Linked DNA regions of Homo sapiens: region 1 is linked to region 2. The links are contacts of gene promoters, found by promoter capture Hi-C in blood cells and fetal thymus (Javierre and others, 2016). All regions are on one chromosome and are shown on one strand. The core of a region is centred on a gene start or on the middle of the fragment in contact, and the rest is flanking DNA. Distances in the headings are between cores, read along the strand shown.

Region 1 (6,121 bases), core at 1,140-3,639, 630 kb before region 2:
TTCTTTATTACGGCTGGCAGAATTTAACAATATTACCACAGGTCTTTGAGAAAATTTGGCTTCTAAGAGGGATTACTATTTATTTCAATCAGACTGGGAGGAAAGTCCCTTTGAAGAGGAACCTGTATTTATTTCATTTTCTACAAGTCCAAGAGTTTGAGACCAGCCTGGGCAAAGTAGCAAGACCCTGTCTCTCTCTCTCTCTCTCTCTCTATATATATATATATAAACATATATGTATAAATACATATAAATATATAAATATATAAAAAATATATAAATATACATGTTCAAAATGCTTGTTCCCTGGTGCCATAAAGAAATTAGCACTTGAACATAAATTTAATTTACTCAGCAAGGCCATTTTTACTTCCTGCAGAAACGGTATACTCACCAGCAGTTTTGCCACGAGAGTACACCAAACAAAGGAGATAGGGTCATTTATAACCTGATGCTTCCAACCTACTGCTGTGTCCAGTTTCCACTGGCTGGAATGGGACCTCACGTTCTGGCTAGCAACTTATAACTTTTTAAAAGAGGCAAGGGTAGAGGAGAACAAAGGAAGGAGGAAGTAACTTGTGGAATGCTGAGAAGGGTCAAAACATCTTCAAATAAGGAAAAAGAACAGGCTATGCCCTAATGCTTGCCTGGACCAGTACAAGCATGCCAGGGCAAATATGTAGACTAAACTGTGGGAGCTAAGAATATAAAGTACATTGATTTCTTTATCACGGCTCACAGATACTTGAGAATGTTAGCACAGGTCTTTGAATAAATTTTGCTTCTAAGAGAAGTTACTATTTATTCCTAATTAAATGTGAAGGAACGTCTTTGAAGAGGAACCTCTGCTTTACTTTTTAGATATAAATATAAAGCTTGTTTGTATGCCTCTCCTCATGTTCCTAGAGCCTTTCCATGATTCTTCCATATTGATAAAGCTGCCAATGAATGGCATGGTCTATCCCTTCCATTCAGTCAGAGTTTCTGTAGGCCTTTTTTTCTTCATTCTTTATTTTTTAGAACCTGCTGATTCCATTGGGTTTTCTTTTTCTTTCTTGCTTGCTTGCTTGCTTGCGACAGATCTCACTGGATCAGACCAGGCTGGAGTGCAGTGGTGTGATCTCAGCTCACCGCAACCTCCACCTCCCAGGTTCAAGCAATTCTCCTGCCTCAGCCTCTGGAGTAGCTGGGATTACAGGCGCCTGCCACCACGCCCAGCTAATTTTTGTATTTTTAGTAGAGAACGATTTCACCAGGTTGGCCAGGCTGATCTCGAACTCCTGGCCTAAAATATCTGCCAGGCCAAGATGGTAGGATCGTTTAAGGCCAGGAGTTTAAGACAAGCCTGGGCTACACAGCAAAACCCCATCTCTCTATATATATATAAAAAAAATTTAAATTAAAAAATGTTTTGTTTTGTTTTGTTTTTTTGAGACATAGTTTCGCTCTGCCACCCAGACTGGAGTGCAGTGGTGCGATCTTCACTCACTGCAAACTCTGCCTCCTGGGTTCAAGCCATTCTTCTGCCTCAGCCTCCTGAGTAGTTGGGACTACAGGCATGTGCCACTGCGCCCAACTAATTTTTGCATTTTTAATACAGACATGGTTTCATCATATTGACCCAGCTGGTCTCAAAGTCCTGACCTCGTGATCCATCCACCTGGTCCTCCCAAAGAGCTGGGATTACAGGCATGAGCCACTGCCCCAGCCAAAAATATGTATTTCTGTTGTTATTTTTCTGATCTTACCACATGGGCCAGGAACACATTTCCTACGTTGTAAAATAGCACTGATACCAGACATTCTCCCCAAGATTATTCAGAAATGTAACATACTCCCAATAAAAATACCAAAAGTTTTTTTCTGGAGTTAAGTACATTGATACTGAAGTTTATGTGGAGGAACAAACATCTGATAATAACCAAGAAAACAAAAACAAAAGCAATGATGAGCAGCAGATATTAAAACATACTATTGACAGTTTTCATGCAAGGCAAAGAATTACATTATTTTAAAATAAAAATAAAGTCCGGGCACAGTGGCTCACGCCTGTAATCCCAGCAATTTGGGAGGCCGAGGCAGGCAAATTACCTGAAGTCGGGGGTTTGATACCAGCCTGGCTAACATGGTGAAACCCTGTCTCTACTAGAAGTACAAAAATTAGCAAGCGTGGTGGCACATGCTTGTAATCCCAGCTACTTGGGAGGCTGAGGCAGGAGAGTTGCTTGAGCCTGGGAGATGAAGGTTGCAGTGAGCCGAGATTGTGCCACTGAATTGCAGCCTGGCTGACAGAGTGAGACTCTGTCTAAAAAATTAATTAATTAATTAATTTAAAAAACATACTATAAAGCCTCTATAATTAAAACTATGTGGTACTAGCACGTGAAACAGAAACTAATAAAATATCAAAAAATAGACCCATGAACATGTAGAAATTTGGTTCATAAATGTATTTTGCCAGATGCGGTGGCTCATGCCTGTATCCTAGCAATTTGGGAGACTGAGGCAGGAGGATCACTTGAGGTCAGGAGTTCAAAACCAGCCTGCCCAACATGGTGAAACCCCATCTCTATTAAAAATACAAAAACATAGCCGGGTTCGGTGGCTCATGCCTGTAATCCCAGAACTTTGGGAAGCCGAGGCAGCCGGATCATGAGGTCAGGAGTTCGAGACTAGTCTGACCAACATGGTGAAATCCCATCTCTACTAAAAATACAAAAATTAGCTGGGTGTGGTGATGCATGCCTGTAATCTCAGCTACTCAGGAGGCTGAGGCAGGAGAATTGCTTGAACCCAGAAGGCGGAGGTTGCAGTAAGCTGAGATCGCACCACTGCACTCCAGCCTGGGCAACAGAGTGAGACTCTGTCTCAAAAAAGAAAAAAAATTTAGCCAAGCATGGCCGAGCATGCTGGCTCATGCCTGTAATCCCAGCACTTTGGGAGGCTGAGGCAGGCAGATCACGACGTCACGAGATCGAGACCATCCTGGCCAACTTGGTGAAACCCCGTCTCTACTAAAAATAGAAAAATTAGCTGGCATGGTGGCGGGTGCCTGTAATCCCAGCTACTCAGGAGGCCGAAGTAGGAGAATCGCTTGAACCCAGGAGGCGGAGGTTGCAGTGAGCCAAGATCGCTCCCCTGCACTCCAGCCTGGCGATAGAGCGAGACTCCGTCTAAAAAAAAAAAAAAAAAAATTAGCCAAGCGTTGTGGTGGGCGCCTGTAAGCCCAGCTACTCGGGTGGCTGAGGCAAGAGAATTGCTCAAACCTGGGAGGCAGAGGTTGCAGTGAGCCGAGATCACGCCATTTCACTCCAGCCTGGCGACACAGCGAGACTCTGTCTCAAAAAAAAAAAAAAAAAAAAAAAAAAAAGCCGGGTGCATTGGCTGATGCCTATAATTCCAGCACTTTTGGAGGCAGAGGCGGGTGGATCACCTGAGGTCACGAGTTAGAGACCATCCTGACCAACATGAAGAAACCCCGTCTCTGCTAAAAATACAAAATTAGCTGGGCATGGTGGCACATGCTTATAATCCCAGGTACTCAGGAAGCTGAGGCAGGAGAACCGCTTGAACCCAGGAGGCGGAGGTTGGGGTGAGTGGAGATCGTGCCATTGCATTCCAGCCAGGGCAACAAGAGAGAAACACCGTCTAAAAAAAAAAAGTGGCATTTCAGATAAATGGGGCAAAAAATGCCATTTGTAACAAATGGAAGGTCTAAGATAGCTGGTTAGCCATCTGAGAAAAGATGAAATTAAATCCATACTTCACAGCATATACAAGAATAAACTCCAAGTGGACTAGGGATCTAAGTGTAAAAAATAAAACCACACACGTATTTAGGGTGTTTAAGTGATTTCTTGGCTGAGTAAGGAAAAAGATGTTACCACAAGGCGGCAGTAGCACACAAGCTTCATTTGGGATGTGCTTTGACAGGTTAGCAGTGGGGGAGGTAGCAAACAGCAAGAGAATATCCACAGGCTTCTACCTGTGGGTCGCTGCTCAGAAAGGGTGGAAAGGAAGAAAGACTCTCAGAGGAGAAGGGGAATCAAAGAGGGGGCTTATAAATAACTAAATGATGATATTCACCAGACTGGCAGCATATCTTCCAGTTAAAAAGCTCTGAAGGATAAGTCTGGCCAATATGGTGAAACTCCGTCTCTACTAAAAATACAAAAATTAGCAGGTATGGTGCCAGGTGCCTATAATCCCAGCTACTTGGGAGGCTGAGGCAGGAGAATCGCTTGAACCCAGGAGATGGAGGCTGCAGTGAGCTGAGATTGTGCCCCTGTACTCCAGCCTGGGTGGCAGAGCAAGACCCTGCATCAGAAAAAAAAAAAAAAAAAAGCTCTGAAGGACCGCAGGGGTATGGGGTTTTCATAGCCCTGGAGTTATCTTATCTATGGCTGTCAGATATTGGATATAATTTCAGAGAATACAAAGCAGGCGCACTCGAAATGGCTAAAAATAGGCTTGTTCAGGCTATGTTTCAAACAATCCAGTGTGTTAAAATTGCAGTTTGGCAGGGGTAGGCTATTGTGAATACTAGTGAGACAAACATTGGTGTACAAATATCTCTGAGTCCCTGCTCTGAACAGTTTTGGATATGCCAAAGTGGAATATCTGGATCACATGGTAATTCTGTTTAATCGTTCTTTTTTTTTCTTTTTTTTGAGACAGGGTCTCACTCTATTGTCTAGGCTCGAATGCAGTGACGTGATCATGGATCACTGCAGTCCTCAACTTACTGGGCTCAGGTAATCCTCCCACCTCAACCTCCCAGGTAGCAGAGATTACAGGTGCATGCCACCACCATCCTTGGCTGAATTAAAAAAAATTTTTTTGTAAAGACCATATTTCACCATATGCCCAGGCTGGTCCTGAAGTCCTAATCTCAAGGAATCCCCTGGCCTCAGCCTCCCGAAGTGCTGGGATTACAGGTGTGAGCCATCACATCCAGCATGGTTTTGATTTTCATTTTCATGATGTTTAGTGATGTTGAGCATCGTTTCATGAGCATCTTTTCGTGTGTTTATTGGCCATCTGTATATCTTCTTTGGTGATATTATTCAAGTCCTTTTTCTGTATTGAAATGAGTTTTGTTGTTGTTACTCTTGGGTTCTAGAAATTTTAAAAATAAACTCTGGATATTTGTCCCCAGTCAGATACAGGACTTGCAAATATTTTCTCCCATTTGTAGATTGTCTTTTTACTCTCTTGTTATTATGCTTTGATGCACAAAATTTGTATCATTGATTAGGTTCAACTCATAATTTTTCTTGTGTTGCCTGTGTGGTTGATGTCATAACTGAGAAGTCATTTCCAGTTGAAGCTTTCTCACCTATGTTTTCTTCTAATAGTTTTCCAGCTCTAGCTCTTACACTACACTAAGGTTTTTGATCCATTTTTAAAAAATCATGCCACATTATTATTATTATTATTATTAAGATGGAGTCTTGCTCTGTCACCCAGGCTGGAGTGCAGTGGCACAATCTCAGCTCACTGCAAACTCTGCCTCCCAGGTTCAAGTGATTCTCCTGCCTCAGCCTCCTGGGTAGCTGGGATTACAGGCGCCTGCCACCATGGCCAGCTAATTTTTGTATTTTTAGTAGAGATGGGGTTTCACCATATTGGCTATGCTGGTCTCGAACTCCTGACCTTGTGATCCACCTGCCTTGGCCTCCCAAAGTGCTGGGATTACAGGTATGAGCCACCACGCCCATCCTTCATCCATTTTAAGTAAATTTTTATATATGGTATAAGGTTAGGGTCCAACTCCATTCTTATGTATGTCTATATCTCAGTTCCTCCCCCATATAATCCTGTCCCCAGGGAATCAACAACCCATGCTCTTCCTAGTCACCTCCTTGAACATGTCCCTCCCCCAGGAAACCTCCAACATGAGATAGAACAATGTAGAAAGGACATTCAAAACTTCCCTTTCCCTTGTTTGTCAAAGGAATCCGCCCCAACGGTTGTCCCCTTAAGGGAAGTCCCACTGGGGGGAGGGGGCATTGGTTGCATTAATGCCCTCTTAACCAGCTCAGAAGTCAGAAACTTCAAAAGGGAACTCAAACCATTGTTAGATGACCCTTATTGGGTAGCAGATCAAATTGATCAATTT
Region 2 (6,019 bases), core at 1,652-4,151:
ACTCGTCGCATGGGCTGGAGTGCGGTGCGGGATCTCGGCTCACTGCAACCTCTGCCTCCTGGGTTGAAGCGATTCTCCTGCGTCAGCCTCCCGAGTAGCTGGGATTACAGGTGCCCGCCACTACGCCCAGCTAATTTTTTTGTATTTTTAGTAGAGATAAGGTTTCACCATGTTGGCCAGGCTGGTCTCGAACTCCTGACTCGTGATTCGCCCACCTTGGCCTCCCAAAGTGCTGGGATTACAGGCGTGAGCCACCGCACCCGGCCACATTTTTTTTTTTTTTTTTTTGAGACAGGATCTTAGTCTGTCACCCAGGCTGGAGTACAGTGGCATGAACATGGCTCACTGCAGCCTCAATCTCTTGGGTTCAGGTGATCCTTCTGCCTTAGCCTCCCCATTAGCTGGGACCACAGGCATATACCATCACACCTAGCTAATTTTTAAATTTTTGGTAGAGGCCAGGCGCGGTGGCTCACGCCTGTAATCCCAGCACTTTGGGAGGCCGAGTCGGGTGGATCACCTGAGGTCGGGAGTTCGAGACCAGCCTGGCCAAAATGGTGAAACCCTGTCTCTACTAAAAATAAAAAATAAAAATAAAAATTAGCTGGGCGTAGTGGCGGGCGCCTGTAATCCCAGCTACTCGGGAGGCTGAGGCAGGAGAATCGCTTGAACCCAGGAGGCAGAGGTTGCAGTGAGCCAAGATCGCGCTACTGCACTCCAGCCTGGGCAACAGAGTGAGATTCTGTCTCAAAAAAAAAATAATAATAATGCTATTTATTGACTTTACACCTTGTACCAGGCATGGGAAGCTTTGCCTCCATTACGTCACTGAATCTCATAACCTCCTTTTCCAGCAGAGGAAAATGAGGTTGGTTCACAGACCACGTTGTCAGCTGTGCTCTGTCCAGAACGCACTGGCCTCCAAGTAGACAGCCCTGGACTGGTAGGGAAGCCGGCTATGATCCGGTGGCGCCCCCTGGAGGTCTATCGGGAACATGGTAAAGAACCTAAAAATGGGTGGGCCACAGTAGCTCATGCCTGTAATCCCAGCACTTTGGGGGACCAATGCGGGAGAATTGCTTGAGCCCAGGAGTTCAAGACCAGCCTGGGCAACATTGGGAGACCCACCCCCCGCCATCTCTACAAAAAAAAAATTAGGCCGGGCGCGGTGGCTCAGGCCTGTAATCCCAGCACTTTGGGAGGCCGAGGCGGGTGGATCACCTGAGGTCAGGAGTTCAAGACCAGCCTGGCCAACGTGGTGCCACACTGTCTCTAATAAAAACACGAAAATTAGGGCCGGGCTCGGTGGCTCACGCCTGTAATCCCAGCACTTTGGGAAGCCGAGGCGGGCGGATCACGAGGTCAGGAGATTGAGACCATCCTGGCTAACACGGTGAAACCCCCTCTCTACTAAAAATACAAAAAGTTAGCCAGGTGTGGTGGCGGGCGCCTGTAGTCCCAGCTACTCGGTAAGCTGAGGCAGGGAATCGCTTGAACCCGGGAGGCCGAGATGTGCGATCTCACACCACTGCACTCCGGCCTGGGCGACAGAGCGATACTCCATCTCAAAATACAAATACAAAATAAAAAAATACAATACAAAAATGAGCCGGGCTTGCGTACCTGTAGACCAGCTACTCAGGAGACAGAGGCAGGAGAATCCCTTGAGCTCTGGAGGTCGAGGCTGCAGTAAGCCATGATCTTGCCCATTGCACTCCAGCCTGGGCGACAGAGGAAGACCTTGTCTCTAAAAACCAAAACAAAGAAACTAAAAATAAGCATTCGGATTTGTTAGGGGGCGACAAGGGAGGCACTCCAGGATCTGTGGACTCCCCACTTTGTTCTGTCCTTGGAGAGCCCTGGAAGGTCTGAGAGGGGACGGGACCTGGTTTAAGGGGGTAGGGGAGAGGACCCTGGTCTAGGGGGTAAGGGACACAAATACCTAATCTGAGGGGTTTCGGGGGGACATGGCCCTGCCCTGGGGAATCTAAACTGGGAGGCATGGTCTGGCAGGCCCAATCCTGAAGGCTTTCTGAGGGCAATAAGGCCCTGCCTTTAAACAAATGAAAAAACGCCAGGCACGGTGGCTCACGCCTGTAATCCCAGCACTTTGGAAGGCTGAGGCGGGAGGATCACGAGGTCAGGAGATCGAGACCATCCTGGCTAACGCGGTGATACCCGTCTCTACTAAAAATACAAAAAATTAGCCAGGCGTGGTGGCGGGCGCCTGCAGTCCCAGCTACTCGGGAGGCTGAGGCAGGAGAATGGCGTGAACCCAGGAGGCGGAGCTTGCAGTGAGCCGAGATCGCGCCACTGCACTCCAGCCTGGGCAACAGAGCAAGACTCCGTCTCAAAAAAAACAAAAACAAAAACAAAAACAAAAACAAAAAAACAAATAAAAAAACAAAACCACATAACTGGATAAAGAAAAAACCATCTCCGACAGCCTTGGAGGCGGGATGAAGGCGTGGCCCGGTGGGCGTGACCAACAGCAAAAGTTTAAGCGTTATTGGCTGTATTCCTTAGTTGCTCACTCCAGAACTGCCCACTTATGGGCGGGGGTCACTCCTTCAGGCTTAACAGTCATTGGCTGAATTGGGCCAGAGAGGTCTCATTGGCTGAATTCCTGCACCGGCTCGTCGGAGGCGGGACCCAAAGTAGGCTAGGCCTACGGAAGCTGGGTCTTCTTGCTGTGAGGTCGCGTTCCCCAGTGTTACGGAGGGTCCTTGAGGCAGGAGTGAAAATTGGGTCTGGGGGTTAGTCCTGGGGTGGAGGTCTGGGCACGCCGGGTCGGACCCCCTCCATCTTCGGTTTTGCACACCCCGCTTTCCAGCGCGGAGTCGCGGCGGGTAGGGCGGCGTCGCGTGCGTGACGTCATCCAGCGGCGCCTCGCGAGGCTCCAGTGGCCTTGACCTCCCGCGGCGTGGGAGGCTGCGCGGCGATGCTGCAGTTCGTCCGGGCCGGGGCGCGGGCCTGGCTTCGGCCTACCGGCAGCCAGGTGAGGCCAGGGGCTGGAGGCGTGGTCGAAGGATGAAATTTGGGGGTGTCCAGGGGTCGTCTCTCACTTTCGCCCAACCCTTGCAGGGCCTGAGTTCCCTGGCGGAAGAGGCAGCGCGTGCGACCGAGAACCCGGAGCAGGTGGCGAGCGAGGGTAAGGCAACCGGGGTGGCTCCAGGAGGGGCGGCGACAGAGAGGTCTGACCCTTGACCCTAACCTCTGACCCCCGCAATCGCTCCAGGTCTCCCGGAGCCCGTGCTGCGCAAAGTCGAGCTCCCGGTACCCACTCATCGACGCCCAGTGCAGGCCTGGGTCGAGTCCTTGCGGGGCTTCGAGCAGGAGCGCGTGGGCCTGGCCGACCTGCACCCCGATGTTTTCGCCACCGCGCCCAGGTGAGCGAGGGCTGTAATGGTGAACTGAGTGGCAGAGGGATGAAGAGCGGGATTTCAGGAGTCACGATGACTTTGGGCTTGTACCCTTGGGAAAGTGCTGTATTTCTACAGCCTCCGTTTCTCCACCTGTCAAAGGGGAATGATGACAGTTTCCCCTGCTGTAGCGCTGTGTGAGATTGAAGCCTGAGAGGTGACATCATCTAAGGGTTAGGGAGACAGAATTCTGGAGCCCGACTGATTAGGTTCAAATCCTGCCTTCCCCTCTTGTCCCTCAGTGTCCCTATTTTGTCAGCGGTCGGGAGGTTGCTGTGATGAATAAATGACTTAATTCTGGCACATAATAAGTTCTATAGAAATGTTGATAATCTTTGTTAACTGGTTTTTGCAAATAAGAGCACTAAAAAGACTAAACCATTCCTCGGTGCCTGGAAGAGGCTGTTTGCATTTTAGTTACCCTGCTGTTCATAACATCTCTAAGAAAATGTAGGGGCCACCCTGGGCGCAGTGGCTCACGCCTGTAATCCCAGCACTTTGGGAGGCCAAGGCGGGCGGATCACGAGGTCAGGAGATCGAGACCATCCTGGCTAACATGGTGAAACCCCGTCTCTACTAAAAATACAAAAAAAAATTAGCCGGGCGTGGTGGCGGGCGTCTGTAGTCCCAGGTACTCTGGAGGCTGAGGCAAGAGAATGGCGTGAACCCGGGAGGCGGAGCTTGCAGTGAGCCGAGATCGCGCCACTGCACTCCATCCTGGGCAACACTCTGTCTCAAAAAAAAAAAAAAAAAAGAAAGAAAAGAAAATGTAGGGGCCAGTTACTGTGGCTCACATCTGTAATCCCAGCACATTGGGAGGCCGAGGTGGGCGGATCACTTGAAACCAGGAGTTGCAGACCAGCCTGGCCAACATGATGAAACCCCGTCTCTACCAAAAATACAAAAATTAGCCGGACGTCTTAGTGCAAGCCTGTAGTCCCAGCTACTCAGGAGGCTGAGGCATGAGAATCGCTTGCACCTGGGGAGATGGAGGTTGCAGTGAGCCGTGATTATACTACTGCACTCCAGCCTGGGCGACAGAGACAGACTCCATCTCAAAAAAAAAAACAGGTGAAATTGATTTCAATAATGTATTTAACCTGTATTTAAAACTATGTCGAAATCACATTGTAGCATGGGGCACTGGCCATGTTTCAGATGTTGAGTATGTGACTGTATGGAATGGTATAGAACTAGAGAGGAAAACCAGTCCCTGAAGAAGGTGGCAATAAGTGAAGTGTAATAGCAGGAAAAAAGTAATGGTAGGAAAAACAAGGAAGAAGGGGTGGCTTTTTTTTTCTGAGATGAAGTTTCGCTCTTGTCGCCCAGGCTGGAGTGCAATGGCATGCTCTCAGCTCACTTCAACCTCCGCCTCCTGGGTTCTACTAATTCTCATGCCTCAGCCTCCCGAGTAGCCAGAATGACAGACATGTACCACCGTGCCCAGCTAATCTTTGTATATTTTGGAGAGACATCACTTTGCCATGTTGCCCAGGCTGGTCTTACTCCTTGCCTCAAGTGATCCACCTGCCTTGGCCTCCCAAAGTGCCAGGATTCCAGGCATGAGCCACTGCACCTGGTCAGGGTGGCTCTTTCTTTAGAAGGTACCTTTCAGCAGTTATTGGAGCTGCTACCTGTAGGCTGAGAAAGAACCATCCAGGAGAAGAGTGTTTCAGGCAGAGGGAACAGCAAGTGCCAAGGCCCTGAGGCAGAATTTCAAGATGGGGTCAGTGAGGGGCAGAGGCAAATCGCCCAGGGCCCTGGAGGCAGAAGGGAGAATCCTGGGTTTTCCTATAGTGGGGTGGGAGCGTTTGAAGCAGAGTTGGGCTTCTCATGTGTCCTTCCTCCCCGCAGGCTGGACATACTGCACCAGGTTGCTATGTGGCAGAAGAACTTCAAGAGAATTGTGAGTGCCTAAATGGAGCAAGGTGGTGGGAAGGAGCTTCCTGGGGAGGTTGGGGATAGGACCCAGAGGAAGCCCATCGCTGGGTTTTCTCTGGACTGCTCGGCTGGGGCCTCATCTGTCTCCTGAACTATTCACCGATGGGTCCATTTTTGGTTCTCTTTTTTTTGTTTGTTTTTGAGATGGAGATGGAGTCTCACTCTGTCACCCAGGCTGGAGTGCAGTGGCGCAATCTTGGTTCACTGCAACCTCCGCTTCCTGGGTTCAAGCGATTCTCCTGCCTCTGCCTCCTGAGTAGCTGGGATTACAGGTGTGCACCACCATGCAGGCTAATTTTTGTATTTTTAGTAGAGATGGAGTTTCACCATGTTGGTCAGGCTGGTCTCAAACTCCTGACCTCAAGGAACCTACCTGCCTTGGCCTCCCAAAGTGCTGGGATTACAGGCGTGAGCCACCGTGCCCAGCTCATTTTCAGTTGTTTTCTGATCACTCACTGATGTGGGCATTGTGGTGGGTGAGAGGATATAGCAGGGACCACGAGGACAAAACAGGCAAGGTCCGGCTGTGTGCAAGTGGCTCAGGCCTGTAATCCCAGCACTGGAAGCTGAGGTGGGTGGGTTGCTTGGGGCCAGGAAAGACCAGCCTGGGAAACAGCAAGACCCAGTCTCTACCCCTTCCCCCACAACCCCAAGAA

The links. Contacts are between HindIII fragments. The CHiCAGO score rates a contact against its expected background, and 5 or more counts as called.
Region 1: a fragment that was not itself captured here is called in contact with the fragment with the promoter of MRPL4 in region 2 in 1 of 17 cell types (naive B cells); the score reaches 5.1 in naive B cells.

Annotation. Positions count from the first base shown.
Region 1 is chr19:9,622,107-9,628,227 of GRCh38, forward strand. It overlaps ZNF561-AS1 (ZNF561 antisense RNA 1), which reads left to right. Exons shown (of 4, transcript NR_122038.1): 2 at 4,678-4,754. Among named protein-coding and RNA genes, the nearest start is that of ZNF561-AS1, 3.7 kb to the left of the region's middle. The HindIII fragment of the contact is 3,033 bases long and covers 874-3,906 here.
Region 2 is chr19:10,249,313-10,255,331 of GRCh38, forward strand. It overlaps MRPL4 (mitochondrial ribosomal protein L4), which reads left to right and starts at 2,902. Exons shown (of 9, transcript NM_015956.3): 1 at 2,902-2,998; 2 at 3,085-3,151; 3 at 3,239-3,389; 4 at 5,277-5,328. The coding sequence starts at 2,942. RefSeq lists a silencer at 838-887 and enhancers at 2,257-2,830, 2,285-2,434, 2,565-2,974, 2,831-3,404. The HindIII fragment of the contact is 20,723 bases long and covers 808-6,019 here.